2 separate regions of the Homo sapiens genome follow, and region 1 is linked to region 2. The links are contacts of gene promoters, found by promoter capture Hi-C in human tissues and cell types (Jung and others, 2019). All regions are on one chromosome and are shown on one strand. Each heading gives the region's core, a stretch centred on a gene start or on the middle of the fragment in contact. The rest is flanking DNA. Distances are from core to core; before and after follow the strand shown. Region 1 overlaps CTC1 (CST telomere replication complex component 1). Region 2 holds the start of ODF4 (outer dense fiber of sperm tails 4).

Region 1 (3,439 bases), core at 1-2,500, 100 kb after region 2:
CAGCATGTTTGGATGACCAGTCAGTCCTCCCGTCTGTTGCTGCTGAAACCAGAATGTGTGCAGGAGCTGGAACTGGAGCTGGAAGGACCCCTCTTAGAGGCTGACCCCAAGCCACTCCCCATGCCCAGCAACTCGGAGGACAAGAAGGATCCAGAAAGTCTTGTCCGGTATTCTAGACTCCTATCCTATTCGGTGAGCACAGGGAGAGATCCTAGAGCTTGAGGGGCCAGAAATGTGGGTTTTCAAAGAGGAAGAAAATAGTGGTCAACTGGACCTCGGCCTGTTTGCAGGGAGCAGTCACTGGCGTGTTGAATGAGCCCGCTGGCCTCTATGAGCTGGATGGGCAGCTGGGGCTCTGCCTTGCCTACCAGCAGTTCCGTGGCCTTAGGCGGGTGATGCGACCTGGAGTGTGTCTGCAGGTATGTGAGATCAGGGCTGATAACAAAAAGAGACCTCTGCAGCTTCTCTTACCTTCATAGGCTCCTTTTCTGCAGCAGGGTGGTTATATAGAAATATAGAAATTAAAAGTGTGTGTTAGGGGGCACTTTTGCTAAGGATAACTTGGACAGAAGCTTAAATAAAAAGGAGTAGAGTCTTGGGCACTGTGAGGAGGAGTTGTGGCCAGAGCATCTCCTTCACAGAAGGGCCTTTCAGCTGGAGGAGGAGATAGCTGAAGCACAGATCTGGGGCTGGGGTGATCTCAGGCGACCCGGTGAGAAGCCTCAGCCATGTCTGTTCATCCAGGAGCCACCCAGCCCACAGCAAGACTGAGTGGAGCTCATGGGAGATGAAGGCTGACCGCAGCGGGAGTGGGTTGTAATGGAAAGTGAGGCCAGCCCACGTGGGAGAAATTGCTTTCCGTCTTCCTGGAACCCAGGCAGTGGCAAAGTGCGGTTAACTCTGCCTGGGTTCATTGAGTTGGGGTCTTCATCTCTGCTTTTTCATTTTCTCTGCTTTCCCCCAGCTCCAGGATGTTCACCTGCTCCAGTCAGTGGGAGGGGGGACAAGAAGGCCAGTGCTCGCCCCCTGCCTCCGTGGCGCCGTTCTGCTTCAAAGCTTCTCTCGTCAGAAGCCTGGGGCTCACTCATCCCGTCAAGCCTACGGGGCCTCCCTGTACGAGCAGCTGGTGTGGGAACGTCAGTTAGGACTTCCCCTCTACCTGTGGGCTACCAAGGCCCTGGAGGAGCTGGCCTGCAAGTGAGGAGGCTGAGGGCCCAGGGCGGGGAGGCAGTGGGAGTAGCACACTTCCTTGGCAAGGAGAGCAGGATTCTTGAAGAGGCAGGCTCTTCAGGGGAAGTGACTGTGCTGCTTTTCCTGGCCAAGGCTGTGTCCCCATGTGCTGAGACACCACCAGTTCCTGCAACATTCCTCTCCTGGGAGCCCCAGCCTGGGACTGCAACTCCTGGCTCCTACCCTGGATCTTCTAGCTCCGCCAGGCAGCCCTGTTCGGAATGCACACAATGAGATCCTTGAAGAGCCACATCACTGTCCCCTCCAGAAAGTATGAGGATGTGGGGGAAGGATGGTGGCAGAACACTGGAGGACACCTGGGGCCCATGGGACACACACCCGATTTCTCTTCCCTCCTTGACAGTACACTCGGCTGCAGACTCCCTCCTCCTTCCCCACTCTGGCCACCCTGAAAGAAGAAGGACAGCGTAAGGCCTGGGCCTCCTTTGACCCTAAGGCCCTTCTGCCCCTCCCGGAGGCCTCCTACCTGCCCAGCTGCCAACTCAATCGCCGCCTGGCTTGGTCCTGGCTCTGTCTGCTGCCCTCTGCCTTCTGCCCAGCCCAGGTAAGGGGGACCCTAGCAGGGCTCAGGTGATTTCCCTTTTTGTCATCCTTATTGCCACGACTCTAGTCTCGGTTACTATCTTTCTTCGTCATTTTGACTACACTAGCCTTCTAAGCAGACCACTTCATCTGTTGTTGGCCCTCCAATTCATTCTCTCTGCAGCAACTAGAAATGGGGATATGCCAGGCACAGTGGCTCATGCCTGTAATCCCAACACTTTGGGAGGCTAAGGCATGAGGATCACTGGAGCCCAAGAGTTTGAGACCAGCCTGGGTAGAGAGACCTTGTTGCTACAAAAAAGTTGTCTTAATTAGGTGCGGTGGCATGTGCCTATGGTCCCAGCTACTCAGGAGGCTGAGGTAGGATTGCTTGAGCCTGAGAGATCAAGAGTATAGTGAGCCAAGATCACACCACTGCACTCCAGCCGGGGCAACAGAGCAAGACTCAGGAAAAAAAAGGAAGTTTAAAAAAAAGTGAAACTTGTATTACAGAACTCTCTTGTTTAAATCCTTTTTTTCGAGACAGGATCTTGCTCTGTAGCCCAGGCTAGAGTGCATTGGCGCGATCATGGCTCATTGCAGTCTCGACCTCCCAGGTTCCAGTGATCTTCCCACCTCAGCCTCCCAAGTAGCTGAGACTACGGGCGTTCACCACCGTCCCTGGCTAATTTTATTTTTTTATTTTTTTGGGACAGAATCTTGCTCTGTCACCCAGGCTAGAGTGCAGAGGCACTATCTTGGCTCACTGCAACCTTGCCTCCTGGGCTCAAGCAGTCCTCCCACCTCAGCCTCCCGAGTAGCTGGGACTGTAGGCATCCATCACCACATCCAGCTAATTTTTGTGTTTTTGTAGAGATGGGATTTTGCCATGTTTCCCAGGCTGGTCTCGAATTCCTGGACTTGAGTGATCTGCCTGCCTCAGCCTCCCAAAGTGCTGGGATTATAGGCATGAGCCACTGCACCTGGCCTGGGTTAATTTTTACACTTTTTAATTTTTAGAGATGGGGTCTCACTATGTTGCCAGGCTGATCTCCACCTCCTGAGCTCAAGTGATCCTTCTGCCTTGGCCTCCCAAAGTGCTAGGATTACAGGCGTGAGCCACTGCGCCCCAGCTTAAATTCTTTGCGTGCCTCCCAGTGCATATAAAGTAAAATCAAACGTCTCATTGTGTCCTGTGAGATCCCGCATGGCCTCTTACCTGTAACCTCTATTTGTGCGCTTTCTCTTCTCCTACTAAATGTGTGAATGCGTGTGTGTTTTTTTATGTCTGTCTTCCCCACTTGAATATAAGTTTTTTGAAGCCAGAGACGTGTCTTTTTTGTTCATTTTGTAGCTTTACCATGTAATACAGCATCTGGCAAATAGTAGATGCTCAGTATTTGCTGAATAAACATTTGATAACTCAACCTTCATCTTCTTGCAGGTTTTACTTGGGGTTCTGGTGGCTTCATCTCATAAAGGTTGTCTGCAACTTCGGGACCAAAGTGGTTCCCTGCCCTGCCTGCTCCTGGCCAAGCACTCTCAACCCCTCAGTGACCCACGGCTGATAGGTTTGGAGTTCAGATGTGGAAAGAAGATGGTAGTGGGATGGTGGTTCTCATAGCCAGGGGAGCCTGGGAGGAAAAGCCTGCTGGGATTTACTAGA
Region 2 (3,891 bases), core at 627-3,126:
ACTCCAAATTCCTGAGGGGTGAGGGAACAGCATAACCAGAGACTAACAACAATAAGAACCAGGTGTGGTGGCCACGGCCTGTAGTCTGAGCTTCTCCGGAAGTTAAAGCAGGAGGATCCCTTGAGCCTGGAAGTTCGAGGCTGCAGTGAGCTATGATTGCACCACTGTACTCCAGCCTGGGTGACAGAGTGAGACCTTGTCTCTAAAAAAATCAGCGAAACAAACAGAAAAAAACAAGGATGAGGAATGAAGCAGCTGCAAGAATTCAGGGAAAGAAGGAACACAGAAGCCAGATGTGGAAAAAGGAAAATGATCCAGAAAAGCAAGGCCTGAGGCAGAAGGAAAGGAGAATGTGTGGGATCAGGGCCTGAGAGGGGACATTGCAAGGAGTCCTCTCAAAGCTCTGGGTACACAAGACTAAGGAAACCCCCATCTCACTGGGGCTCTTGTCCCTGGTAAATTAGGCGATTAATGAATGATTCTCTTGTGCTGAGTCCATGCCCCTCGTAACTTTTTTTTTTTTTTGAGACAGAGTTTTACTCTTGTTGCCCAGGCTGGAGTGCAATGGTGCGGTCTCGGCTCACCGCAACCTCCACCTCCCGGGTTCAAGCAATTCTCCTGCCTCAGTCTCCAGAGTAGCTGGGATTACGGGCATGTGCCACCACGCCTGGCTAATTTTTTGTATTTTTAGTAGAGACGGGGTTTCACTATGTTAGCCAGGATGGTCTCGATCTCCCAACCTTAGGTGATCTGCCTGCTTTGGCCTCCCAAAGTGCTGGGATTACAGGTGTGAGACGCAGTGCCCAGCCTGATTTTTTTTTTTTTTTTTTTGAGACAGGAGTCTCACTAAATTGCCCAGGCTGGACTCAAATTCTTGGGCCCAAGCAATCCTCCCACCTCAGCCTCCTGGATAGCTGAGACTACAGGTGTGCAGCACCATGCCCAACTCTCTCACAGCATTCTTAGAAGCACAGATTTGGCTCTGGGTTTTATCAAAAGCAGTGACATTTTCCATTGCACCAATCAAATCTATTTAGCCAGGCTACAGGATGAGAAACGATCATCGGAGGTCTCAGTGCCAGTGGAACCATCTTGCAGGCCAAAAAGTAAAGATGACCAGAAAGAGGGAACAAGAATACATCCAGGGTGCAGATACAGAGGCCAAGACAGGCTGGCGGCCTGGGCTGGGATGGGGGGTGGAGGGGCTCACCTTTCCCATTCTCTAAGTCAGAACAGCTCCTGGATTTGTAAAAGTGCAGGAGCCCCATGGACATAACGTGGGCTGATGTGTGGATTCTGTTGCTGACATCCACGGGCCAGCGCTGGTAGAAGAGGCTCCTAGAGAGGTCCAGCCATTTCTTGGAGAAGGCCACGACCAATAGTAGGATAAAGGCAACCAGGCTGAGCTCAGAGGCCAACACCTGGGCCATCCAGCGGAAGCTGTGTGTGATTCTCCATTGAAAGGGCAGCGGAGAGTTCTGGCGCTGGCCCAAGGACCTGTTACTACTGAGGGAGAGGGTGGAGGACAGCAGTCTCCCATCTTGTCCCAGCTCACCTGTGCCCCATCCTGCCTCCCCACTCTTCCTTTCCTTTCCAGGTCTCTGATGTTGGTCTCTTTCTCCTTCTGACCTGGGGAACTCATTCCCAGAGTACTCTGCATCCATCTTGAGCACCACTTCACCCTCTGTCTCCCCTTTCCCTCACCAGACTCAATTGTCTCTTCTCATCTTTTGGATATTTTCATCAGCTGCCACCATGCAGCCTGAGGTCTGAGAAAGAATGAGGAAGTCTAATAACAGACCTCGATCAAATAAGAGACTCTTGATCCAAGAGAAGGCCCCAACCCATTCAGCAGGCCAGGTCCCCTAACTGCCACGGAATTTTCCTGGGGCACAGTGAGATGGGGGAGGGAAGCCAAGTCTTCAGCAATTTTTTTTTTTTTTTTTTTTTTTTTTAGAGAGAGAGACAGGGTCTCCCTCTATTGCCCAGGCTGGGATGCAGTGGCACAACCTTGGCTCACTGCAACCTTGAACTCCTGGGTTCAAGTGATCCTCCCACCTCAGCCTCCTGAGTAGCTGGGATTACAGGATTGTGCCAGCATGCCTGGCTAATTTTTCAATTGTTTGTAGAGATGGGGTCTTGATATGTTACCCAGCCTGGTCTCAAACTCCTGGCCTCTGCCAGGCACGGTGGCTCACGCCTGTAATCACTGCACTTTGGGAGGCCGAGGTGGGTGGATCACCTGAGGTCGGGAGTTCGAGACCATCTTGACCAACATGGAGAAACCCCATCTCTACTAAAAATACAAAATTAGCTGGGCGTGGTAGCACATGCCTGTAGTCCCAGCTACTCAGGAGGCTGAGGCAGGAGAATTGCTTGAACCTGGGAGGCGGAGGTTGCGGTGAGCCGAGATCGCACCATTGCACTCCAGCCTGGGCAACAAGAGTGAAACTCAGCCTCAAAAAAAAAAAAAAAAAACTCCTGGCCTCATGAGATCCTCCCCACTTGGCCTCCCAAAGCACTGGGATTACAGGTGTGAGCCACCTTGCCTGGCCTGTGGCTCCAGCTCTAACTCTTTCCGGAAATCCTGTTTCTCAGGCCACAGCTCAGAACTGTGGATCTGACACCTCCCTCCAGCTTCTGCCTCCCTTTACATATGAGCAATGGTATGTGAGAGGCCCTCCTGTGGTCTGCATATGGTTAATTTGTCTTCACCAAACCTCATGCTGAAATTTGCTCCCCAGTGTGGTGGTGATGGGAGGTGAGAGGGCCTAGTGGGTGGTGTTTGGGTCATGGGGGCAGATGCCTTGTGATTGGATTAACGCCTTCCCTGAGACCTCACTCCATTAGCTCCCCGCAATAGCTGGTTGTTAAAAAGAACCTGGCGCTGTTACCAAGCAAAAGTGCTCGCTGCCAGATGTGCATAGAAGCCAATACTCCAATACTAGGGCACTAGGTTTTGAGAAAAGGAAAGCTTTATTGTGAGCTGACCCACGAGGATACGGGAATCCAGCTCAAATCTGTCTCTCTTTGCTGGTCTTAAGGCAGTACTTTTATTAGAAAAGGTTTAGGGGGAGGATTCTGGGATTAGCGGGTGATTGGTGGAAAGAAAGGAGAAGTCTAGAAAGTCCTTAATCATGTCTGGTTATCTCCAAGGTTCTTCGTGGGTTGCATGTGCAAATTTGGTGGCGTTAGTATGAAACAGCAGGTGGAAATTCAGGCTGTGACATCAGCAAGCTCGTTCTGTGCGGATTGCTGTCAGCCATACGGGTTCCCACTGATTTCAGCCAGTCCTGTTATAAGCAAAGGGATTTTTCAGCATTTCAGCAAGCTGTTTCTTAGCTGCCATCCTGTAAACTCGAAAATGTCTGTTAATCACTGGTTTATTTAACTGTTTGGGGCACAGTTTCAGCTCCTCCCTTACCTTGTGATCTCTGCACAAGCCAGCTCCCCCTTGCCTCCACCATAAGTGAAAGCAGCCTGACGTCCTCAACAGATGCCCAATCTTGAGCTTTCTGGCCATCAGAATTGTGAGCCAAATAGCCCTTTTTTCTTTATAAATTATTCACCCTCAGGTATTCTGTTATAGCAACACAAAATGGACTAGGACAGTCCCCTTTTCTCTTCCTAGTTCCTCTGCCCTAACCCCAACCCCAAATGCTCACTGATGGAGCAGGGGGAGGGAGCAGGAGCTTATCCCCAGGAAAAGATCCTCCCTCCATTGTTCTTTGGACATGTCTTGCAAAGATGTCATCGAGCTTCCCATTGCTTTCCCCAACCCTTCACCTCCCTCCCAGCTCTACTCACTGCTAGTCAATCACCACCAGTTCCTTCCCTCTTCTTTTGACTTTTCTTTTTCCTTTCTTTTTTTTCTCAGCACCAGAAAGAGGA

Evidence for each region. Contacts are between HindIII fragments. The study calls those that stand out against the background at their distance.
Region 1: a fragment that was not itself captured here is called in contact with the fragment with the promoter of ODF4 in region 2 in 4 of the 25 tissues and cell types used here (H1 embryonic stem cells, IMR-90 fibroblasts, mesendoderm cells and 1 more).

The regions. Positions count from the first base shown.
Region 1 is chr17:8,232,811-8,236,249 of GRCh38, reverse strand. CTC1 (CST telomere replication complex component 1) reads left to right here. Exons shown (of 23, transcript NM_025099.6): 6 at 1-192; 7 at 291-419; 8 at 965-1,197; 9 at 1,324-1,501; 10 at 1,595-1,795; 11 at 3,218-3,344. Among named protein-coding and RNA genes, the nearest start is that of TRI-AAT4-1, 7.5 kb to the right of the region's middle. The HindIII fragment of the contact is 3,118 bases long and covers 1-2,809 here.
Region 2 is chr17:8,337,825-8,341,715 of GRCh38, reverse strand. ODF4 (outer dense fiber of sperm tails 4) reads right to left here and starts at 1,876. Exons shown (of 3, transcript NM_153007.5): 1 at 1,211-1,876. The coding sequence starts at 1,664. LOC124903916 (a long non-coding RNA gene) reads right to left here and starts at 3,659. Exons shown (of 2, transcript XR_007065607.1): 1 at 3,425-3,659; 2 at 2,958-3,293. The HindIII fragment of the contact is 12,554 bases long and covers 1-3,891 here.